3 separate regions of the Homo sapiens genome follow, and regions 1 and 3 are each linked to region 2. The links are contacts of gene promoters, found by promoter capture Hi-C in blood cells and fetal thymus (Javierre and others, 2016). All regions are on one chromosome and are shown on one strand. Each heading gives the region's core, a stretch centred on a gene start or on the middle of the fragment in contact. The rest is flanking DNA. Distances are from core to core; before and after follow the strand shown.

Evidence for each region. The method cuts DNA at HindIII sites, captures the fragments that hold promoters and counts their contacts. A CHiCAGO score of 5 or more calls a contact.
Region 1: a fragment that was not itself captured here is called in contact with the fragment with the promoter of PHAX in region 2 in 1 of 17 cell types (M2 macrophages); the score reaches 5.4 in M2 macrophages.
Region 3: a fragment that was not itself captured here is called in contact with the fragment with the promoter of PHAX in region 2 in 1 of 17 cell types (monocytes); the score reaches 5.0 in monocytes.

Annotation. Positions count from the first base shown.
Region 1 is chr5:123,584,025-123,588,108 of GRCh38, reverse strand. CSNK1G3 (casein kinase 1 gamma 3) reads right to left here. Exons shown (of 14, transcript NM_001364140.2): 7 at 1-41. Among named protein-coding and RNA genes, the nearest start is that of CSNK1G3, 74 kb to the right of the region's middle. The HindIII fragment of the contact is 4,995 bases long and covers 17-4,084 here.
Region 2 is chr5:126,599,028-126,603,223 of GRCh38, reverse strand. PHAX (phosphorylated adaptor for RNA export) reads right to left here and starts at 2,277. Exons shown (of 5, transcript NM_032177.4): 1 at 2,166-2,277. The coding sequence starts at 2,261. RefSeq lists enhancers at 649-1,497, 1,498-2,345, 2,346-3,195 and silencers at 1,860-2,109, 2,230-2,439. The HindIII fragment of the contact is 34,757 bases long and covers 1-4,196 here.
Region 3 is chr5:123,451,577-123,455,651 of GRCh38, reverse strand. No RefSeq gene overlaps it. Among named protein-coding and RNA genes, the nearest start is that of CEP120, 30 kb to the right of the region's middle. The HindIII fragment of the contact is 1,575 bases long and covers 1,283-2,857 here.

The DNA.
Region 1 (4,084 bases), core at 1,265-3,764, 3.0 Mb after region 2:
CATATGACCTAAAGCTTCTAAATCGTCTCTTCTACTTTGTTCTGAAATACAAAAGAAATATAAATTTCACTTTTCTCTAACAGTTAAGAATGGAAGAATGGAGAGTTTGTTCTTTCATTATGTATAAATTAATTTCCAAAAGTTCAACATATAAATACAAAATACAGATCTAGTAACTATAAGTGATAAAATTATATCTATATAAATAATGTTTTTACATTAAGATTATTGAGCATCTTTAAAATATTCCATTATAATTTTTAGATGCTGTTAGAGATTTATTTATCTGCTTAGATGTCTATTCATGGAAGTACAGGCCACGGGGAAAAGAGTTCCATGGTCAGAGTCACTGTATACTACAGCTCTGTCTTAAAGATTCAGAAGGTAACGTATTAAAACTTCTGAGAAATCTAGAATTTAAAATGTTTAACTTTTTCAACCCTGCATTTCCTAAAGTTATATGAGCACAAAACTCCCATGATAAATACTCTCCATTAAATTAAACACGATTATGGAGTATTGTGTGTAATATATTTTAAGAAAAACTTGTGTTTGACACATACCAACATTAATAACCCCTTCACTATCACAAAAAATACTACTTGAACAAACTGTCATTTTCAAGTTGTTGTTGTAACAAAATGTCATTTAGCACATAAGTGAATAAAGATTACAGACTAAGGCTCAGGGAGATGCTTATAAATACTTGCTGACTGAATGATATTTCAATTTTTCTGTCACTGAAGTTAAATACTTAAGATTTCTTGATGTTTCAAAATAATACCAAAATGCTAACTACCAATGAGAAAATACTTTAATAAGAGGATGTCTGTTTATGTGCAAGATGTTTTATCCACATGAACAATCATACTATCTAGGCAGTACTTAATGCTTTCAGAAAAGCAAACTTTTCAAAGTATGGCTCTGAACTAGGATGAAGGGTCAGAAAAGGTTTTGATTTTTACTGTGTAAACATTCTATACTTGTTGATATGGTTTGGTTGTGTTCACACCCAAATCTCATCTTGAATTCTCATGCGTTGTGAGAGGGACTCAGTGGGAGGTAATTGAATCATGGGGGCAGGTCTTTCCCATGCTTTTCTCCTGATAGTGAATAAGTCTTATGAGACCTGATGGTTTTATAAGGAGTTTCCCTGCACAAGCTCTCTTTGCCTGCCACCATCCACATGAGATGTGACTTGCTCCTCCTTGCCTTCTGCCGTGACTGTGAGGCCTCCCCAGCCATGTGGAACTGTAAGTCCATTAAACCTCTTTCTTTTGTAAATTGCCCAGTCTCAGGTATAACTTTATCAGCAGCAGCAGCATGAAAACAGACTAATACACTTGTTTTCAATAACACTTGTTATGATTTAAAGATACTATGTTTGTGTTTTTATTTAATCAATATATATGCTTCCACCAGACTGCAAGTTGCAGAAGTATACATCAAAATTGACAGTCATTAAGGCTACAAGATTGGAAGACTAGAGAAGAGATTTCAACTTCCCATTTCGCATGCTAAAAATGTGATATAACGGAGAGGTTTTTTTATTTCTTGTACTTTTTATTATAAAATGTAAGTATATGCTATTAAAAATAGCAAATTTTCCAAAATAAGTAGTGGCCTTAAAGTCCATCTACATCCACTAATGAAAGTGGGGATGAGAATATGAAAAAAACTAGTTATAACTTTTATAACGAAAATTTTACTTCATTAGATTCTCGTAGTCCTGAGGGTATAGTTTGGTAAGTTTTAACAACAAACACACCTGCATAACTACCACCACAATCAAGAGGCATTTCTAATGCTCCAAAATGTCTCTTGCCTATTACTCTCCCCCAACCCCCACAATACCATCAGCCTCAGGCAACCACTTATCTGCCTTCATCACTACAGATTAGACAGGTGCACATGAATGGAATCATACAGTATAGATTCGTGTCCAAATTCTTTCACTTACTATGTTTTCAGGATTTATCCATGTTGTTACGTGCAACCATAGCTCATTACTTTTTAATGCTGAGTAGTATATTACAATGTGTTTATTCATCTGTTGACAGACATTTGAATAGGTTCCAGTTTGGGGCTATTGTGAATAAAGCTGTTATGAACATTCTTCTTGTACTAGTCTATGTTGACATACATTTTCATTTATGTTGGGTTAATATCTAGAAGGGGGATTGCTACATGATGTTGTAAGTATAGGTTTAACTTTATAAAAAACTTCTATATGATTTTCCAAAGGGGTTATGTCATTTCACATTTCTACCAGCAATGTATGGGAGTTTCAGTTGCACCTGTCCAACCTCTGTATGGTCTTTTAAATTTTAGCCATGCTAGTGGCTATGAAGTATAAGCAGTAATAAATCCTTTCAGAAAAGCAAACTTCAAAGTATGGATTAACTGACTTAATTTGTATTTCACTGGTGACTAACACTGAACTTTATTTCATGTGTTTGCCTGTTTAAAAAATTGGATTGTCTTACTAAAAAGTTGTAATAGTTCCTTGTATATTCTGGACACAAGTTATTTTCAGATATGTTTTGCCAATACCTTTTCCCTTCAAGAAAACAGCTTGCTATTTTTTTGTTTTCTTAAGAGTATGTTTAAAAGAAATTTTACATTTTGATGAAGTCCAATTTATCAGGGGTTTTTTCCTCTTATTTTCTATACTTTTTGATGTCCAATCTAGGAAATCTCTACCCACAAGATCACAAAGATTTTATCCTGTTTTTTCTTCTAGAAATTTTATAGTTATGGTTCCTACATTTAAACCTATTACTCATTTTGAAGTAATTTTTTTTTTTGCTTTTGGTGTGGAGTAAGGATTTAGATATATTTTTTTCAATACTAATATCTAGCTACTCTCATATAGTTTCTTGGCAAAACTATCCTTTCCCCTCGAGTTGCTTTTGCACCATTCTCAAAAATCAATCGGCCATCTATGTATAAGTCTATTTCAGACTCTGTATTCTGACCAACTTATCTGTATCTGCCTTCATATCAATACCACCCAAAATAAACAGAAGGACAAAATAATGACAAATGAGGAAATCAATGACCAATGGACAATCAGTAATGAAAACCAATGAAAACAAAAGCTGGATTGGAAAGTTCAATAAAATCATTAATCCTCTCAGCAGGCTAAAAGAAAGAAACACAAATTACCAATAACAGAAGAAACAGAAGAGGCATCAGAACAGATCCCACAGATATTAAAAGAATGATAAAAGAATACTACGAAACAACTTACATGTAAATTAAACAACTTACATGAAATGGACAAATATCTTGAAAGCTACTAATAACTAAAACTGCCTCAAGAAGAAAATGTGAATAGCTCTGCATCAATTAAAGAAATTAAATTTATTATTTAAAAACTTCCCAAAATACAATCCAGATAGCATCGCTACTGAATCCTATTAAACAGTTAAAGAATAATACCAATTCTACATAAACCCAGGATTGGAAGAGTTCCCAACTCACTGCATTACCCTGTTACCAACAACAGATAAAGACATTACAATTAAAGGAAACTATAAGAAATATTCCTCATAAACACAAACATGAAATCCTTAAAAAGATAATACCTCATGACTAAGTAAGGTTCATTCTAGGAATGTAGGTTTGGTTTAACTTTTAAAAATCAATCAATGTAATTCGCCAAATTAATAGAATAAAATATAAATCATATTGTCATCTCAGATACAGAAAAAGTACTTGACAAAATCCAACACGTATTAATGATTTTTAAAAAAATCTCAGCAAACTAGGAATTACAAGCCAACTTCATCCTGACAACAACTACGAAAAATGTCAACTAACATAATTCTTAAATGATAAAAGACACTCCTAAGATCAAGAACGAACAAAGATGTCCACTCTTACCCTTTCTATTCAGTATTGTACTGGAAGTTCTTGCCAGTACAAAGAAGCAAAGAAACAAAATTAACAGATATTCAGATTGGAAATGAAGAAATAAAACTATTGCTCTTTGCAGACAACAGGATTGTATATGTAGAAAAATCCAAATAACCTACAAAAGGTCTATTACAACTAGTAGGTAAGTTTTAGCAAGGTTACA
Region 2 (4,196 bases), core at 1,028-3,527:
AAGTTTTGTTCTGTGGCCGAGGCTGGAGTGCAGTGGAGCTATCATGGCTCACCACCTCTCAGGCTCAAGCGATCCTCCTACCTCAGCCTCCTGAGGGACTGGGACTACAGGCAACCTTCACCATACCCAGCTATTTTTTTTTTTTTTTTGCATTTTTTGGTAGAGACGGGGTCTTGCCAAGTTGCCCAGGCTGGGCATGTATTTTTTTTTTTTTTCTTGAGATGGGAGTCTTGCTCTGTCACCCAGGCTGGAGTGCAGTGGCGCGATCTCGGCTCACTGCAAGCTCCGCCTCCCGGGTTCACACCATTCTCCTGCCTCAGCCTCCGGAGTAGCTGGGACTACAGGCGCCCGCCACCACGCCCAGCTAATTTTTTTGTATTTTTAGTAGAGAGGGGGTTTCACCGCGTTAGCCAGGATGGTCTCGATCTCCTGACCTCGTGATCCACCCGCCTCGGCCTCCCAAAGTGCTGGGATTACAGGCGTGAGCCACCGCGCCCAGCCTGGGCAAGATATTTTTAAAACCCCAGAGTCCACGGCATTAAGTTTATTTACCAAGTCATGGGTCAATTTATGTAAAAACAACCTGAGATTGAAAAACAAAATATCTTGGTACTAATTTCCTAAACATTTATATGCAAAAGCAAGTATTTGTCTTTGTTAAACTCCTACTACGCTAGAAATGGAAGTTGGGACTATCTATCTTCCTATCTTCAAATAATAATCAGAGATAACACTTACCAGGCATTACTGCACACTGTATGCTCCACAGAATCCTTGCAATAACCCTATCAGTGGTACATCATGCCAATTCCACAGAGGTAGACAAAAAGCAGTGAGGCTAAATAAACCTGCTGTAGGTCACACATCGGTGGCCCCAGGATCTGAACACAGGCAGCCTGGCACCAACGCCCTCTCAAAGAGGTTGCTACCTACCAAGGCAGTCAAGACAAATTCCCGTTTAGAAAGCAGGGAAGCTGGGCCGGGCGCGGTGGCTCGCGCCTGTAGTCCCAGCACTTTGGGAGGCCGAGGCGGGTGGATCACTTGAGGTCGGAAGTTCAAGACCAGCCTGGCCAACATGGAGAACCCCCGTCTCTACTAAAAATACAAAAATTAGGCCGGGCGAGGTGGCTCACGCCTGTAATCCCAACACTTTGGGAGGCCGAGGCGGGCGGATCACCTGAGGTTGGGAGTTCGAGACCAGCCTGACCAACATGGAGAAATCTCGTCTCAACTAAAAATACAAAATTAGCTGGATGTGGCCGGGCGCCGTGGTTCACACCTGTAATCTCAGCACTTTTGGAGGCCGAGGCAGGCCGATCACTTGAGGTCAGGAGTTCGAGACCAGCCTGGGCAACATGGTGAAACCCCGCGTCTACCAAAAATACAAAAATTAACCGGGCGTGGCAGCGGGCGCATGTAATCCCAGCTACTCGGGAGGCTGAGGCAGGAGAATCGCTTGAACCCGGGAGGCGGAGGTTGCAGTGAGCCGAGATCGCGCCACTGCACTCCAGCCTGGGCAACAGCGTGAGACCACCTCAAAACAACAAACAAAATCAGAGAGGCTAATGCAAAAGCCTAGTGCCATGGTACCGCATGACAAAGCTAGGTTCGGTGGAAACATGGAAAACCAGATCTTTGAGTGAGCGATAAACTTCATTCCTGGGCCTCAGTCTCCCTTCGGCTCAGGGAGAAAATGAGCATCACAGGCTGTTTCAGGCTGATGTCCCTAGATGCTACATATTTGGCAAAATCTGCCCCTTTATGGTTACCTAGCGGCGATGGAGTGGGGAAGCCCCAAGTTTAGAAAAGAAAGAGCGGTAGGCGGAGGTGAGACGTCTAAGAGGCCGCCGCAAGCCGGCCTCCAGGAGGCGCCAGGGCTCGCGCGCCCCGCCTCGCAGGGAGCAGCCAGTTCGGGGTTCGCACGGCCAGCCGCTGCCGCTGCCGCCGTCGCCCCTCGCCCCTCGGCCCCCGCAGCCCGGGCTCCGTGAGCCCGCCTGGGGGACGTCTGCTCGCCCCTTCTGCGGCCACTGACCCGACAGCCTGGGCTCCTCGCTCTGGCCCGGGCTCCTAGCTCCCACCCCTCACCCTCACCGCTGCCTGCGCGCTCCCCGGGGCCCAGGCTCCGCGCGCCCAGCCACGATCACCCACCCTCCTTTCACACTCACTGGCAATTGCAGCGGCCTGTCGCTGGGTGCGACCGTCATGTCGGAATCCGAGTCGGAAAGCTGCCCATCTTCCATATCGCCGACCTCCAACGCCATCTTCCCGCGGTGCGCTGCGCTGCACAGCGGCGGGTCAGGAGAGCACTTCCGGCGGGGCAGCCGGAAGGCCCGGCGGCTCGGCTGCTCGGGCGCCCCCGCGCGGAGGCCAGCCTGTCCCAGCGGCCTGAGGCGTCCCATTGCATTCCAACTACCCCGGGAAAATGAATCCCTTGTTCCCCCAACACTTTTCTTCCAAACTTTATTTTCGTGCAAACATAAATATGTCACGTATCGCGGTCGTCTGGGATTCCTCCCTTGGCCGTACATCCTTCCCCTGTATGCTCTGGACAAGCCTCCCCGCTTCTGTTCTTGCTCCTCCACAATCCACTCTACATATTGCTTCCAGGGAAGCCTTTCAAGCTGTATAGTCCGCCCTCTGTATCCACTCCCCATCCACGGATGCCGAACCTGCGGATGGGAAGGACCCACCGTGCACCCCCACATAATGTAAGGGGCTTGAGCATGGCGGATGTTGGTATCTGTGGGGGTCCTGAAAACAATGACCCGCGGATACCTAGGGAGGATTGTACCTTAGCTCGAATCTTCCAAGTGCATCCCTCCCCAAAACAAGGACTGAGTTCTCAGCATGGTGTTTGAAATGTTTGTTTTCCGGTGTCGTAAAGAAATAGCAACATAAATTTAACTTACTGAATAAGGCCATTTTTACTTTCTGCAGAAAGGGTACACTCGCCAGCAGTTTTGCCAGGAGAGTACACTGAACAAAAGGAGACAGGGTCATTTATAACCTGACGTGTTTACCTTACTGCTGTGGCTGGTTTTTATTGGCTGGACCGGACCTCACATTTTGTATTTGTCCCGATTGGCTAGCAACTTAGAACTTTTTAAAAGAGGCAAAGGTAGAGGAGAACAAAGGAAGGAGGAAGTAACTTGTGGAATGCTGAGAAAGATGAAAACACTTTTAAATAAGGAAGAGGAACAGGCTATGACCTAATGCTTGCTTGGACTAGTAAAAGCATGCCAGGGCAAATATTTAGGCTAAATTGTGGGAGCTAAGAACATAAAGTACATTTTTTTTTATTATGGCTAGCAGATATTTAAGAATGTTAGCACAGATCTTTGAATAAATTTTGCTTTTAAGAGAAGTTACTATTTATTCCTAATTAGACGGGGAGGAAAGTTTTTGAAGAGGAACCTCTGTTTTACTTTGCCACATGGCAAACAAGGTCATGTGGACTGGGCATCTGGTCACTGGTCCTAGTGTGTCCCCCTGCCTAACCGCTGGCGCGCTGAACCTGTTGTTCCTCAGGCCAGGCCTCTGCATTTGCTGTTCACTCGGCCTGAGAGGCCCTTCCCTCAACCCACCCCATTCTTTAAGGGTTATCTTGGAACCCGCCTTTGCGAAAATTATAACAGTGAGAAAATTATGGCAGTGGGAGAGATCTGATCTAGCCAACCCCTATCTTGCTTTTAGCCTTCAAGCTGCCCTTAATTATTCCTGTGCTTGGGCCTGTCAATGTAACTTTGGGAGACATTTAGTTTATAGTTTAAATGATAATAACCCTTCCCCAAAAGCCAACCGCCTTTGTAAAGCTAGTAAGAGACCACCAGGGTAGACGGATAAAGGAGGCTGAATTCTGCTAAGGTGTAGACATAAACCGTTGCCAGTCATTATCCCAGAGGTCACAAGGTATGCAACTTTTCCATTACTCTTCCAGATAATATCACTATTGTAGACCCTAAGATTGGCGTTTTGAGATATCTTTTCAGATATTTTGCATGTCTGACTACCAATGGTTCCACCTGAACCTCTAACCGCTTCTGGGTTCCCACACAGAAGTTGTCGAGCTGCTTGAGGACAATTTCCCATACCCCTATGACTGCATCCCCAACCAATAAGCAGCAAGAACCCATTGCTTAGCCACTCCATCCCTTCCCCAAACTATCTTTGAAAAACACTAGTCCCTGAATTCTCCA
Region 3 (4,075 bases), core at 821-3,320, 3.1 Mb after region 2:
CCAAAACAGAAACATTTGAACTCTCTGAATAACTGGGGTAATTCCTTTATGAGCTTTCTTTTTCCTTTTAAAATTTGAAAATAATATATACCATCCTATATCACACACTCTGGTTTTATGTTAAAACAAGCAACCTGATTTTTCAATGCATATTAAATATAAATATTTGCAAAGGAATATTAGTGATAATGATGATGGGGCAGTCGTGATGGTTTTGGAAAGTTTGTATGTGAACAATAGACCTTTCCATTTATATATATATATATATATATATATATCACTTTCTGGTTTCAGGCTGCTACTGCTATTTATAGTCTACCCTTGATGGTAAGCAGATGTCTCTACTCTTAATCTCTTTCCGTAGCCTTTGTTTCAGGCAAGCTGGCTCATTTCTAATTGTTCCACACTGGGCTAATCCATCCCTTTTGCTTACAATATGCTTGAATGGCACATGGTTAGATGCTGCTACAACGCAGATATTAGGGAATCCCTACATAGTGCATTCTGTGAACATTCCCTGCTCATTGGCATTACATAAAAATGCCCATTATTGAAATGCAGAGATAAATAGGGTTCCAGAACCAAGTGACTACTAGTGCTTCAGGACCTTACTATTTTCTATTAAAGTTGATTCAGAGATAAAGCTCACAAAACTGGAAACACCACCAGATGGGACATCAACTGGAGGTTAGATGTACTTCAGGATATATTAGCAACTGTAATCACAAATTGTTCAGCTATATATTCATAGTAGAAAAGATTATTAGTGGATCAGGGATTCCTAATCATCAGAGTGTGTGGCAGATTAATGTGAAGAGAAGGTTTACAGCCAGGCTTCAGATTATTGTGTACAGCCTGCAGCCAACTGTATCTCTACTATGCCTGTAGTAACAGTGGGTATACATACTTGTGCATATAAACATGACTCATCAGAAATGTCCTGCAGAAAAAAAAAAAATAGTTCGCCATTCCTCACTACTTGTAAACCTACATTTTTCCCTTAGAGTTTCATGTAGATTAATTTCCTTTTCTGTCTACCATTCTAACTCTCAAAGAAAAAGCCTTCTAGGAAATATAAATCAGTGGGTTGCCTCAACTGACATAACACTGAATTGAGAACTTTATCAATAGTTGATATTATGGAGACATTTAGTACTTTTGAGGGAAAGTTGTTTAAGGAAGTAGATACCCATGGGACTATCTTACTAGCACTGCATGCATTTCAGGCTTTTACTGTGCTCAATCAGTAATGTGTTAAAATCACAAAAGCATATGGAAAGCTTTACTTTGTTTAGGAAATATGTTTACTGAATACAGTGCAGGCATATACAGTTGCCCAAAAGGGAAAACTAAGAGGAGATTCTGTTTGCTGATTGCTTAAAGGGGGTTTCAGGATTTTATTAGCATCTTTATGTAACCAGGAAAGGGGAATCAGAGTCCTGGACTGAGCCTAAAGTAAGATTTAAGCCCATTCAAACATGTCTGAGGAACTTTTAAGCAGGACTTTCATGAGTCCATTTGCCAGAGAGTTGCTCTTTGAAAAACGGGAGAGGTAGGGAGGTTTTGTGCCTCAGGTATCCCTGTTTCATAGCCAGGGCCCCAAGCGTGAAGTTTAAAGAGAAAGGCGTAGTAGGCATGAAGCATCGAAGCAAATTCCCTAAAGCACTCAAGGGAGTAGAATGTGGCATCAAGAGGCAGGAGGCTAAGTATTCCCTTCCCTTCTGGGTGGAAAAGACCTTGGCTTTGGTACAGTAAGACTCCTGGAAATCCAATGTTGGGAGCATCTAGGGGAGGCACCCTGGTGTGGCTAGACATTAGCCTTGTCACAGGACCAGCAGCAGGGGAGGTAAAACGTACCCTCAGGTAGCTTAGGCAGGATCTGAGTTTTTGTAAGCCCATGAAAACCTTAAATGGGGAATCCAGACATATATTGGTAAGACTTTAAGTGGGGCAGAATTCCTGAAATCACAGGCAGGGGAATGAACCAGTGTTCTCCCCTCAATATTAGCCTATGTGCAATAATGACCACAGACAACATTTCTTCTGAGCATCTTACAAGTCCTAAATCATCGCCTTTCTAAGTTGGATACTATTATTATCTTAAGGGTTTTTTTTTAGATGATAAAACTGAGACGCAGAAAAGTTAAATGACTTACCTAAGGTGACACAGTAATAAATATAGAGCCCAAAATCAGACCCACCCAGACAATCTGACCCCAGACTTCTCTCTTTACCCCTTTACTATACTGCCTTGCAGTATTAAACACACTGGTCTGAGATCAATCAGGTTACCTATGTGACTTTCTATTTTCTTTCAGGAACATCGTCCAACCCTTATAAATCTAAGTAAACATTAGAAACTGTTTATATTATGATAAATTAATTAGCATTGAAAGTTTTCTCTTTTTTTTTTTTCCCAAGACGCAGTCTCGCTCTGTTGCCTAGGCTAGAGTGCAGTGGTACCATCTCGGCTTACTGCAACCTCTACCTTCCGGGTTCAAGCGATTCTCTTGCCTCAGCCTCCCAAGTAGCTGGTAATAAAGGAGCCTGCCACCACGCCTGGCTAATTTTTTGTGTGTTTTTAGTAGAGATGGGGTTTCTCCATGTTGGCCAGGCTGGTTTCAAACTCCTGACCTCAAGTGATCTGCCCGCCTTGGCCTACCAAAGTGTTGGGATTATAGGCAAGAGCCACCACGCCTATGCATTGCCTAGCCAAAAGTTGTCTAAGTATCATTGGATTTGCAGGAAAAATGGCACTTTAGAATTATTTATTAATTTGACAACTGTATCTAAACACTCATGAATAGCTGTCAAATTAGTGAAGGTAAAAAATGCAAAAAGAGTAGTTGAGGAAGCTTGGTATATGGAATGGACATGGAATGAGCAAAACCTAGTTCAATTTTGACTCTTTTGGCCACATATTTTACTATACTTACATTAATTTCCTTAATGAGAAGCTCTGAATCTAGTAGATGACAACAAAGGAAAGAGCTCCAAAAACATCGCCGGAAACATGCAGGGTTCATAGTAATCAGCTACTTAGAGAAGCATAGAGAGGAAGTAGAATAGGGCACGGAGGGGAGCCTTCCTCTCTTTTAATCATTCTATGTTGTGAAAGCAGATGCATTATAGATTAAAGATCGTGTTTGCATCTAATAGGAGAAGGGTCTGGCTTGACTGTTAGGAGAGGTAGAAAAGCTTTTTAAACATAGCATTTTGATTTGTTTTTTTTAGTTATGGTCTTTGAGAATTCAGCCTGTCAGGGTTTGAGACCTTTTCCTTCAACCTTTTCGTCTGGGTTGTATTCTGTTTAAGTTTTTACTCCAGGCTGAAGGAACCTGGAATCAAGAGTAAATTTACATTTCTTTCTGGCTTCCTGTGATAGGCAAAGGAGGAAAGGATCAGGGCCCCAAAACACTGTCTGGGATTAAACGCTGTATTAAGTTTGGGCCCAGCTCACAGGTACCTAAGGGGAGAGATCGGGAGGGACATACATCCTGGTAACTTTGCAGTGTATTTGTTGGTTACCGTATATTAAGGGCCAAATTTCTGAGTTTCACTTATAAAATGATGATAGCACTGTATATCCTACTTACTTCCCAGAATTGTTTCCAAGATTAAATAAGATGATATACATGTAAGTTTTTAGAAAACTATGTAGATTATTTTAAATTAGTAAGTAATTATTCTTTAAACTATATATTTGTGTGCTATGGCTTTTCCATTAGTAGTTATGATTATCTTAATATAATAGGATTCTTTATTAATCACAAAAGCAGCGATTTTATAATATCTTTTGAAAGTAAGTATATTATACTACAATTTGTGCTCTGTAGTCTTATTCAAGTTGAATGACTTTTCATTTATATATTTTTTATTCTTTCCTAAATTTTGAGTGCCTTGAATTCAGGGAGTATTGGATTCATCTTTATTCCCAAGCTTCCGTCACTCAATAAAAGTATGTGACCCAGATGAGTGAATATGCAACCAATCAGTGATTCATAGTCACCAAGGTACATATGTGAAGAAAATGTGATAAAATTTTCATCAAGTGAAAAATGTAGATTGTTAAATA